3 separate regions of the Homo sapiens genome follow, and all the other regions are linked to region 1. The links are contacts of gene promoters, found by promoter capture Hi-C in human tissues and cell types (Jung and others, 2019). All regions are on one chromosome and are shown on one strand. Each heading gives the region's core, a stretch centred on a gene start or on the middle of the fragment in contact. The rest is flanking DNA. Distances are from core to core; before and after follow the strand shown.

Region 1 (3,957 bases), core at 391-2,890:
CCCCAAAACAAACAATACGAACAAACAAAAGAAAAATTTACTAACCCACCAAGATGGGCTCTGGCACCTACAGAGGCAGTAGAGTGGCAATGAAGGACATAGGAATTAGATGGGATTCCTGATCCTGGCTCTGTCACCTTCTTATGTTGTTGTGACCTTCGTCAAACACCTCTGCAAGTCTGTGTCTTTATCTGTAAAATGGAGATGATACTAATATCTGCCCTTTAGGGTGATTGTTGGTTGTGCTGGGGGCCAGTAGGAGAGATGGGGTTGGACTAACAAGAGGTTTGGGAGTGGGATAGATAGGTTTAGGAGTGTGCTTCCAGGAGGGGATCCAGAGCCTTACAGGACTTAGTGCTACATGAGGGCTTAGAAAGGACAGACTGGAAGCGTGTACGGCGGGTGGGGATTGGCAAAGGGGTGGAATCTGGATATTAGACTATTCAGCCTGAGGTTAAGACTATTCAGGGTCTCCTAATCAGGAGTTTGGGTTTTCTCCTAAGGGTGCTGGGGCCATGGAAGCCTGGGAGCGAGAGTGTGCCATGGTTTTATCATGTCTTAGAAAGATCCCTCGGCCGGGCACGGTGGCTCACGCCTGTAATCCCAGCACTTTGGGAGGCCGAGGCGGGCGGATAGCTTGAGGTCGGCAGTTCGAGGCCAGCCTGGCCAACGTGGTGAAACCCGTTTCTACTAAAATACAAAAATTAGCCGGGCATGGTGGCGGGCGCCTGTAATCCCAGCTACTTGGGAGGCTGAGGCAGAAGAATCGCTTAAACCGGGAGGCGGAGGTTGCAGTGAGCCTAGATGGCGCCACTGCACTCCAGCCTGGGCGACAGAGGGAGACTCCCTCTCAAAAAAAAAAAAAAAAAAAAAAAAATGTGAAGGGTAAACTGGAGGGAGGCAGAGTGCATGCAATCAATGCTGTGATCTCAGACAAGAGAATCTGTAAAAACACAAACAGGAGAGTTTATTTGAAGATTCAGGATTTGGGAAGCTGAACACAGGAAGAAAGGAGATGGTGCAACACACTTCTAAGCCTTGCTCAGGACTTGAAATCCAGAGTGCCTTCAGTTAAAAACTCAAACACTGACCCTCAAGGTTGGACCCTTTTTGGCTTGAGAAACCACTAATTTTTCAGAGATGGGTAACTGAGACCCTAGAGAGGAAGGGAAGATTTGTTCAAGGTCACACAGGTAGTCGACAATAGGGCTCGACGCCCGGGTCCGGCTCCGCGTAGGGCATGGCGCTGCCTTGCAAAACAGCCACACCCGCCAGCGACATTCACAACCCACCCCCCAACCCTAGAGGACAGCGGGGAAATCCCACTTTCAGAACCGAGAAACTTTTTACAGCCTTGGAACACGGTAACTTTGGGAGGAGAGGCCACACCAGGTCTGTTTCCCCGCGCGCCCCTTCTCTCATTCCCTATTGGCTCTCTCTACCAGGGGTACCGTCTGGGGAACCTCTGGTCACCTTGTCCTCCGCGCGCTCTGTGGCGAAAGGGACCTGCGCAGGCGCGTGAAGGGCGCCTTCAGGGCCCGCGCTTTACGACACTTGTGCGGCAGCGGCGGCGGCCACCCGGCGCTCCTTCGCGACGGTTCGGCCGGGTGCCGCTGGCGGCCGTTGCCAGGGTAGGGGTCGCTTTGCGGCATGGCGATGGCGGAGGGCGAGAGGACTGAGTGTGCTGAGCCCCCCCGGGACGAACCCCCGGCTGATGGAGCTCTGAAGCGGGCAGAGGAGCTCAAGACTCAGGCCAATGACTACTTCAAAGGTGCGCCCGCCTGGCAGGGAGGGTGGACAGTGGCCCAGGCTGAGGGGTGCCGGGCCCGCGCGGAACCATAGCAACGCGGAGCTGCAGCCTGGGCGCGGGGCAGACACTACCAAGTGACCGGGCGTGGGGAGGCCCAGGATGGCGCTGCCAAGGAGCGACATAGGGGGCTTCGGAGAGTGATACCTAGGAGTGGCGTGCGGAGCGGGTGCTACTCAGTGGAGAGACTGAGGAGGGCGCCACCAATTGTGGGGCGAGAGGGGGACTGGAATGAGGGCGCTACCAAACGTGAGGCCTGTAGAGGGCGCTACCAGGCAGTGACATGTGGTGGGGGAGTGATTGATGGCGCTACCAAATGGGGAGTCCTGGGGTGGGTGCCGCCAAGTGGGGGGTAGAGGGGGCACAGCCCCAATAGAGAAGGCAATCGTGGGGGTGGGGAATGGATCATTAGATGGGGGGAACAAGGAAGTAGGAGATTTGGGCTGACCCGAGGAAAAGGAATGTGATGGTGGGGGCCTTGGGAGTAAGGGTGGGGATCCTTAAGAATAGTATCACTTAGAATATTGAGAGTCAAGTGTGGGGCACCCATTCATTCATTAATTCAACAAATATTTATTGAGTACCTGTTATGTGCCAAGGACTGTGCTTGACTTTGGGGATATAGCAGTGAATGAGACAGATGTGGCCCTGTCCTTAGCTTGTAATTTTGCAGGTGAACCAGACATGAAAAAAAAAAAAACAAAAAAAAACCATGTAAATAAGTAAAATACTTAAATTGTGATGAGTGCTTTGAAAGCAAACCAGCAGTGTGATGAAGTAGAGAATAAGGGTTGGAGGCTACTTTAGATAGGGTAGTGGGGGAAGGCCTTACTGAGCAGGAGGCGTTTAAGCTGAAACTCACAGAGGGAGAACTGGAGAGGAGTGTTCCAGGGAGGTAAAGCAGCCTGTGCAAAGGCCCTGGGATGGGGAATGAAAGGGTACTGGCATGGCTGGGGCTTTGGCTACTTAGGGGGAGACCAATAACAAGATGAGATTAGGACAGAGGCCAGATCATGCAGGGTCTCCGTGAGTCATTACAAAGACCAGTTTGGAATTTTTTTTTTTTTTTTTTTTTTGAGACGGGAGTTTTGCTCTTTTTGCCCAGGCTAGAGTGCAATGGCGCAATCTCGGCTCACTGCAACCTCCGCCTCCCTGGTTCAAGCGATTCTCCTGCCTCAGCCTCCCGAGTAGCTGGGATTATAGACGCACACCACCATGCCCAGATAATTTTTGTACTTTTAGTAGAGATGGGGTTTCGCCATGTTGGCCAGGCTGGTGTCGAACCTCTGACCGCAGGTGATCCGCCCATCTCGGCCTCTCAAAGTGCTGGGATTACAGGCATGAGCCACCACGCCCAGCCCTACAAGAAGACACATTAAGTAAATGGGCCAGTCTGGACTGGAGAAGAATTTGGGTGTGATCAAACTATGGTTGGGAATGGATGAGATCATCTAGTAAGAGGGTCTAGAGGGGGGACTTAGGACAGAACCCAAATGGAAGAGGGTGAGGCTAAGGAGGAGCACTTAGTGAGGTGGAAAGGAAGCCAGGAAAGGTGTCGGGAAGGCTGAGAGAAGGGAGCGCTTCTAGAACAAGGAGCTGGTGCCTTTAGTCCGATGCTGCCAAGGCAAGCACTGGCCATTGGCTTTGGCTCCATGGATGCTGGTAGTGATGTTGACAGGAGCAGTTATTGGGGAGTGATGGGGGTGATGCAGCCAGGAGGTGCTGAAGAGTGAATGGGAGGGGAGGAAGTGGAGACAGCAAATGTTAAGTGTTAGGAGTATTGGTTCTGAAGGGGAGTGGAGAAATGGGGGAGGGTGGTAAGACGAGAACGTGCACAGGAGTTCGAGACCAACCTGGCCAACATGGTGAAACGACGTCTCTGCTGAAAAAATTAGTTGGGTGTGGTGGCACACACCTGTAGTCCCAGCTACTTGGGAGGCTGAGGCAGGAGAATTGCTTGATCCTTGGAGGCAGAGGCTGCAGTGAGCCAAGATCACACCACTGCATTCCAGCCTGGGCAACAGACTCCGTCTCAAGAAAAAAAAAAAGAGAGAAGATGCAGTGTCAGGGAAAGATGGATTTTTTGTAAGGATGGAAGAGAGTAGAGTCCAATAGAGATGGAGAATTGATTCTGCACAGGAGAGGGGGGA
Region 2 (3,957 bases), core at 457-2,956, 240 kb before region 1:
TTAGATTCAGCTGAGAGACCTGACATTTCTGTCTTCTTATATTAATAAGAAAAATAGAACAAAATAGCGGTGAAGTGTTGGGGCGGCAAAATATTTTTGGGGGTGGTATGGAGAGATAATGGGCAATTTTTCTCATGGCTGCTTTGAGCAGGATTAGGGGCAGCATGGGAACCTGGAGTGGGAAAGATTAAAGAAAGATTTTGGGGTAAGGGGTGATATTGTGGGTTTATTAGAAGGAACATTTGTCATATAGAATGGTGATGGCCTGGATGCAGTTTTGTATGAATTGAGAAACTAAACAGAAGACACAAGGTCCAAATAAGAGAAGGAGAAAAACAGATATTAAAAGACTAAGAAATGGGAGGACCCAGGACATCCAATTAGAGAGTGCCCAAGGGGGTTCAGTGTAATTATTTGCTTGGTTGGTGAGTTTTTGGGCTCAATCCTTGAGTTTTTGATGTTGTCATATACCAGGCCAGATTGATTTAGGTAAAAGCAACACTCTTCTTTTAAAAAATATACAGAGTCCCCTTTTTTTTTAGCAGTAAGTCAAAGCCTCGGCGATTTTGGAGGAAAAAGAAATGCAAAGCCAACAATCGTTTGTTAAAGAAGGTTTAGAAACGGCTAGGAGAGAGTGAGTGAGATTGATAGTGTGGTGGAGGTAGCTGGGGAGAGGTAGAGGGTGGCACAAGAACGGGAATGAGAATAAGAGTGAGTGTAAAAGTAAAGAATAGGACTTCATCAGGGTGAAAGTATTGGAGTGTGCCCTGTGAGCAAAGATCATCTATCCACTCCAAGAGGGAGTCAAGAGTGGCGGATTGGGGATAGTACTAGGAGATATCCGCTGTGATGGTTTGGAGGAAAAATGTAAACTGGCAGTGTAAACAGGGGCACGACACTTATGAGTAGTTGAGAATGGTGAATAGGAATATGACTAGACAGAAGATAGTAGGGATGACAAGTTTTTGGGGTGCAATCCAAGTGGGAGGGGTGAATGCGTAAAGCTTTGTTGGGAAGAGTAGGGTAAGGACGAAGAGACCTAATAAAAATGATAGGATGTATTAGGCTTATAAGGGTTACTATTATCATTTAGGAATGCGGGTGAGTTTAAGGGAAGTAGGGTTGAGTACTTGCGACTTCCAGGAGGAAGAGGAGAGATCAGGCTGTCTGTCTGACAGACAAAGCTTTATTCTGGAATGGTGAACCCAATGGGGAGGGTCCTGCAGGCGGACAGCAGTTGGGGTACTAGAGATGACTAAGTAGGGTCCAGTCCATCGAGGTTGTAGAGTTTGAAGGGTCAGATTTTTAACAAGAACTTATCATCCAGCTAGGGTGTCTTCATATGGCTGGGAATCTGGAGTAGGCAAGAGAAGATGAGCAGCCTGGCAAATTTCCTGTCTAGCCTGCTGGAAGACTGGAAGATAGTCGCCTAGAGGGCTGGTGTCTGGGGCAAGGTTGGGTCCGAGCAAGAAAGTGCATCCATATAAAAGTTCAAATGGACTGTACCCTGTAGCATCTCGAGGACAGGCTCTAATTCTGAGAAGGGCAAGAGGTAAAAGTACTGTCCAGTCCTTTTTAAGTTGGAGGCTGAGCTTGGTGAGGTGTGTCTTTAAAAGACCATTAGTCCGTTCTACCTTTCCTGAAGATTGAGGACGGTAAGGGGTATGAAGCTTCCACTGAATAGAGCCTGAGAAACTGCTTGGGTGATTTGACTAATAAAAGCTGGTCTGTGATGAGACTGTATAGAGGTAGGAAGGCCAAACCAAGGAATTATGTCTGGAAAAAGGGAAGAAATGACTGCGGTAGCCTTCTCAGATCCTGTGGGAAAGGCCTCTATCCATCCAGTGAAAGTGTCTACCCAGACCAAGAGGTATTTTAGTTGCCTGACTCAGGGCATGTAAGTAAATCAATTTGCCAGTCCTGGACAGGGGCAAATCCCTGAGCTTGATGTGTAGGGAAGGGAGCGGGCCTGAACAATCCCTGAGTAGTAGTAGAATAGCAGATGGAACACTAAGAAGTGATTTCCTTGAGGATAGATTTCCACGATGGAAAGGAAATGAGAGGTTCTAAGAGGCAGGCTAGTGGCTTGTAACCTACATGGAAGAGGTTCTGAAAAGATGACAGAATAGAATGGGCCTGTGAGGCTGGAAGGAGATATGTTCCTTGGTCCAAGAACCATTTGCCTTGTGTGAGAGGAGATTGATAGGTGGAAGTTACAGTGGGAGAGTAGGTGGGAGTGACTGATGAGAAGGAGAAAAACTGGCCATGAGGGACAGAAGTTGGAATGCTAGCTGCTTCTTCAGCTACCTAATCAGCATAAGCGTTGCCCTAAGCAATGGGATCTGATGCCTTTTGATGGCCCTTGCAGTGAATGACTCCAGCTTCCTTTGGAAGTAAAGCGGCCTTGAGAAGAGTTTTTATTAAAGATGCATTAATGATGGAGGACCCTTGTGTAATGAGGAAACCTCTTTCAGCCCATATAACAGCATGATGGTGCAGGATATGGAAGGCATATTTAGAGTCTGTATAAATATTGATGCGTAGTCCTTTTGCAAGAGTGAGGGCTCGAGTTAAGGCAATGAGTTTGGCTTGCTGAGAGGTAGTGGAGTGGGGCAGAGCAGTAGCCTCAATGATAGATGTGGAAGATACTATAGCATAGCCTGCCTTTGCTAGTGATTGGTGATTAGGCTTGGTGGAACTGCCATCAATAAACCAAGTGTGATCAGGGTGAGGAACAGGAAAGAAGGAAATATGGGGAAATGGAGTGAATACAAGTTAGATCAGAGAGATACAGTTATGGGGGTCAGGTGGGGTATCAGGAATAATGTGGGAGGCTGGATTGAAGTCCGGGCCAGGAACAATGGTAATCGTTGCAGACTCAACAAAGAGTGAATATAGCTGAAGGAGCCAGGGGCAGAAAGTATATGCATCAGGTGTGAGGAAGAAAATAGATTTTGGAAGTTATGAGAACTGTAGGGAGTGAGTTAAGCATAGTTTGTGATTTTGAAGGCCTCTAAAAGTATTAGAGCAGCAGCAGCTGCTGCACACAGAGATGAGGGCTAGTCTAAAACAGTAAGGTCAAGTTGTTTGGACAGAAAGGCTACAGGGTGCAGTCCCAGCTCTTGTGTAAGAATTCTGACTGCACAGCCCTGTACTTCAGCTGTGTGTAATGAAAAGGGTTGGGATGAGTTAGGGAGAGCAGCTTTTAGGGTTGTTTTTTAAGGAATGGAAAGGGGAATGGGGAAAGGATTTAGGATTTATGGGGTCAGCTAAGTTTCCTTTTGTGAGTTTATATAATGGTTTAGTCAGGATGGCAAAACCAGATATCCAAAGGAGAAAGTACCTTAACCATGCCTAGGAAGGAAAGGAGTTGTTGTTTGTAGAAGGGGTTGGGGTTTGGGAGATTAGCCGGACACAATCAGCAGGGAGAGCACGTGTGTTTTTATGAAGAAAGGTGCTGAGATAGGTAACGGATGAGGAAGAAATTTGGGCTTTGGAGGGGGATATGCAATATCCTTTTGAGAATAGATGTTGGAGGAGCAGGAGGGTGCCCTGTTGGGAAGACTTGTAGGGTGGGCTATAAAGGAGAAGGTTGTCAAAATTTTGAATAAGGTGAGAAGCAGATGGACAGAAAGAAAGTAAATCATGAGAAAGGGCTTGACTGAAGTAATGGGGGCTGTCCCTGAAGCCTTGTGGCAGTACAGCCCAGGTAAGTTGCTGGGACTGATGGGTGTCAGGGTCAGTCCAAGTGAAAGTGAAGAGAGGCTGGGATGAAGGGTGTAAAGGAATAGTAAAGAAAGCATGTTTCAGATCCAGAACAGAATAATGGGTTGTGGAGGGAGGTATTGAGGATAGGAGAGTATATGGGTTTGGCACTATGGGGTGGATAGGCAAGACAATTTGGTTGATAAGGCAAAGATCTTGGACCAGCCTGTAAGACTTGTCTGGTTTTTGGAC
Region 3 (3,957 bases), core at 546-3,045, 200 kb after region 1:
GCAGGAAAATCGCTTGAACCTGGGAGGCGAAGTTTGCATTGAACCGAGATCACGCCACTGCACTCCAGCCTGGGTGACAGAGCAAGACTCTGTCTACAAAAAAAAAAAAAAAAAAAAAAAAAATCAATTTTAATAGAGTGGCACATTGAGAACATACCCTAAACATTCATTCTGTTCTCCCGTGCAGCCAGGAGCTCCAGTTAATTTTCCTGTTACCAGCCTCATTTGTTAACTCTGTTCATTTGTGTCTTTCCTTGAAAGGATAATTTGAACAAAAGAGTCTAAGATTTTTTTAGAAATTGTTGCAATATCTGAAAAAAAAAAAAAAGAACCTCCCAAAGAAACCTGCATTCTGATTGGTTGTCTTCCTTGATTATTTGTTGCTATGGTGACCAGGAGGTTAAATAGCATCTCTGTATTTCCTAAAGAATAAATACTGGTTGGTTTTCTCTGGCAAATCAGAAAAGGATCATTTCTCTCCTTCCATGATCATGATGCAATAAAAGCCTAGGGCTCTTCTAGATTTATATTTTATCAAAGAAAGTGAGAGTCTTGTCTTATCCAAATTAACAGAAGCACTTAGTCCAGTGTCCAGTCGCTTGAGTGGCGGTGGCCACTCTCGGAAGGGCAATTACAAACTGTACTAATAGTAAGTCCAGCGCGCCATCTGGTGGCCAATTAGAGAATAGCATGACCGTATCTACTTAAACTAAAAGGCGACTCACCTCCCTTCTTGTCTGTTAAGGCTGCCCTAGCAAATTAATACAATAAGCTTGTTCCTGTTGGTCTTAGTCTGATTGAGAAAGAACCCTTGACTGCTTTGACCCATAGAATATGACAGATGTGACACTGTGCTGGGCATGGCGGCTCACGCCTGTAATTCCAACACCGAGAAGCAGAGGTGGGCGGATCGCTTGATCCCAAGACTGCAAGACCAACCTGGGCAACACAGAAAGACCCCAACTCTACTAAAAATAACTTTTTTGTTTTGTTGTGAGACGGAGTTTCGCTCTTGTCGCCCAGGCTGGAGTGCAATGGCGTGATCTCGGCTCACCACAGACTCCGCCTCCTGGGTTCAAGCGATTCTCCTGCCTCAGCCTCCCGAGTAGCTGGAATGACAGGGGTCCGCCACCGCACGTGGCTAATTTTGTATTTTTAGTAGAGACAGGGTATATCCATGTTGGTCAGGCTGGTCTTGAACTCCCGACTTCCACCCACCTCCGCCTCCCAAACTGTTGGGATTACAGGCGTGAGCCACCACTCCCGGCCAAAAATATAACTTTTAAAAATAGGCTGGCGTGGTGGCCCGCACCTGTAGTCCCAGCTACTCGGGAGGCTGAGGCAAGAGGATCCCTTGAGCCTAGGAGGTAGAGGCTGCGGTGAGCTATGATGGCGCCGCTGCACTCCAGCCTGGGTGACAGAACGAGACCCTGTCTAAACAAACAAACAAACAAACAAACAAGTGACACCGCCAGGCCTGGATCTACATTTTAAGGGAACCAGCAGATTCCGTCGTGATCTCTTTGGCTCCCAGGCTACTGTGTAAGAATTGCAACTCCCCAGCCGGGCGCGGTGGCTCACGCCTGTAATCCCAGCACTTTGGGAGGCCAAGGCGGCGGATCACGAGGTCAGGAGATCGTGACCATCCTGGCTAACACGGTGAAACCCCGTCTCTACTAAAAATACAAAAATTAGCCGGGCGTGGTGGCAGGCGCCTGCAGTCCCAGCTACTCGGGAGACTGAGGCAAGAGAATGGTGTGAACCCAGGAGGTGGAGCTTTCAGTGAGCCCAGATCGCGGCCACTGCACTCCAGCCTAGGCGACAGAGCGAAACTCCGTCTCAAATAAATAAATAAATAAATAATAAAAAAAGAATTGCAGCTCCCCTAAGAGCATGGAGCTGTGAGAAGGCCCAGGAGAATTGAAGCTTCCAGACATGGGAGTGAAGAAGCCATCTTGGAGGTGGGTCCTCCAGCCCTCATCACATGATGCCACGTGGAACAGAAATGAACATCCAGTCAAACCCTTTTCACATTCCTGACCCACAAAATCCTGAACAAGCTTGGGAATTAAGCTATTACTGTGCCATTTTTTGTTGTTGTTGTTTTTGTTTTTTCTTTTTGTTTTGTTTTGGGTTTTTTTTTTTTTTTTTTTTTTTGGTTTTCTGGGTTTTATTTGAGATAGAGTTCTGCTCTTGTTGCCCAGGCTGGAGTGCAATGGCACTATCTCGGCTCACTGCAACCTCCGCCTCCTGGGTTCAAGTGATTCTCCTGCCTCAGCCTCCTGAATAGCTGAGATTACAGGTGCCCACCACCACGCCCGGCTAATTTTTGTATTTTTAGTAGAGACAGTGTTTCGCCACGTTGGCCAGGCTGGTCTCAAACTCCTGACCTCAAGTGATCCGCCCACCTCGGCCTCCCAAAATGCTGGGATTACAGGCGTGAGCCACCGCCTGCGGCCATTGTGCCACTTTTATAGAGGAGGAGATTGAGGTTCAGAGGCCCAGTTGATGGTCCAAGATCACACACTGGGAAGTACTGGAACCAGGGTTATGAAATCCTGTCTGCTTGGCTGCAAAGCCTCTACTCTTCCACACTGCATTATTTAGGAAGACAGACAGGCTTTGGGCACGAGCGTGGGCCTCACTGAGGGGAGAGGGGCCTTCTGGCCTCAGTAATATCCCTGTTCCCTTCTCTGACTGTCACTTCCCCCTTAGAGACAGAGTTTCTGCAGAGTGGAGTCTCTTCTCACGCCTGGGAGAGTTTGTGCAGGAGACATGAGAGCTGAAGATCTGGCACCACCTTTGCCTTAAAGACAAAAGGTGACATTTGGGAAAAGCATGCCACTCTTCGAGTGGTACTTAAGGATCCATGGGCTGAATCTGCCTTTTTTTCCCCAACTGATTTGGCAAGGACCTTCAAATAAATCCAGTGGAGCTTCTTGGGGCAGCATGGCCCACTCTCAAGAGTTTAGCCTTTGAGTCATGTGTGGTGGCTCGTGCCTATAATCCCAGCACTTTGGGAGGCCGAGGCAGGCTCACTTGAGGTCAGGAGTTCAAGACCAACCTAGCCAACATGGTGAAACCCCATCTCTGCTAAAAATACAAAAATCAGCTGGGCATGGTGGCAGGCACCTGTAATCCCAGCTACTCAGGAGGCTGAGGGAGGAGAATCGCTTGAACCCAGGAGGCAGAGGTGGCAGTGAACTGAGATCGCACTACTGTACTCCAGCCTGGGCAACAGAGCAAGACTCTGTCTCAAAAAAAAAAAAAAAAAAAAGAGAGAGAGAGAGAGAATTTAGCCTTTGGACTCGCACAGATCTAGGTTCAAACTCCAGCTTTGCTACTGCAGCCTCAGCGCACTTATCTGTAGAATGGGATTTCAAAATGATGTCTGCTTCTCAAAGTTGCTTTGAGAATTTGCTGATATTTTGTCTTTAAAATACTTCATTGTGTGCTGCCTTACACAAAGATCAGAATCTCTGAAAGGACAGGACAGGAACTTTTTACTCACTCACTGCTTCACTCACTGCTGTATGCCCAGTGCTTTCAAAAGCACCTGGGGCTGGGCGCGGTGGCTCATGCCTATAATCCCAGCAGTTTGGGAGGCAGAAGAGAGCAGATAACCTGAGATCAGGAGTTCAAGACCAGCCTGGCCAACATGGCAAAACCCCGTCTCTACTAAAAATCCAAAAAAAAAAAAAATTAGCCAGGCATGGTGGCGCATGCCTGTAATCCCAGCTACTCAGGAGGCTAAGGCATGAGAATTGCTTGAACCCGGGAAGCGGAGGTTGCAATGATCCGAAATCAAGCCACTGCACTCCAGCCTAGGCTCCATCTCATAAAAAAAAAATAATTAAAAACAGTAAAAATAAATAAAAAGCACTCAGCGTGGGATTTTCAATAAATAGTTACTGAATGAGTAAATCAAAAGCAGTCAATGTTACATATGATGATCAG

What was found. Contacts are between HindIII fragments. The study calls those that stand out against the background at their distance.
Region 2: a fragment that was not itself captured here is called in contact with the fragment with the promoter of PPP5C in region 1 in 2 of the 25 tissues and cell types used here (IMR-90 fibroblasts and liver).
Region 3: a fragment that was not itself captured here is called in contact with the fragment with the promoter of PPP5C in region 1 in 4 of the 25 tissues and cell types used here (H1 embryonic stem cells, aorta, dorsolateral prefrontal cortex and 1 more).

What each region holds. Positions count from the first base shown.
Region 1 is chr19:46,345,447-46,349,403 of GRCh38, forward strand. PPP5C (protein phosphatase 5 catalytic subunit) reads left to right here and starts at 1,641. Exons shown (of 13, transcript NM_006247.4): 1 at 1,641-1,771. The coding sequence starts at 1,651. RefSeq lists enhancers at 1,479-1,658, 1,759-1,888. The HindIII fragment of the contact is 31,019 bases long and covers 1-3,957 here.
Region 2 is chr19:46,102,730-46,106,686 of GRCh38, forward strand. It overlaps a transcript of IGFL2 not described here. Among named protein-coding and RNA genes, the nearest start is that of IGFL3, 20 kb to the right of the region's middle. The HindIII fragment of the contact is 4,668 bases long and covers 1-3,957 here.
Region 3 is chr19:46,542,199-46,546,155 of GRCh38, forward strand. It overlaps the pseudogene PPP5D1P. Among named protein-coding and RNA genes, the nearest start is that of PNMA8B, 48 kb to the left of the region's middle. The HindIII fragment of the contact is 3,360 bases long and covers 116-3,475 here.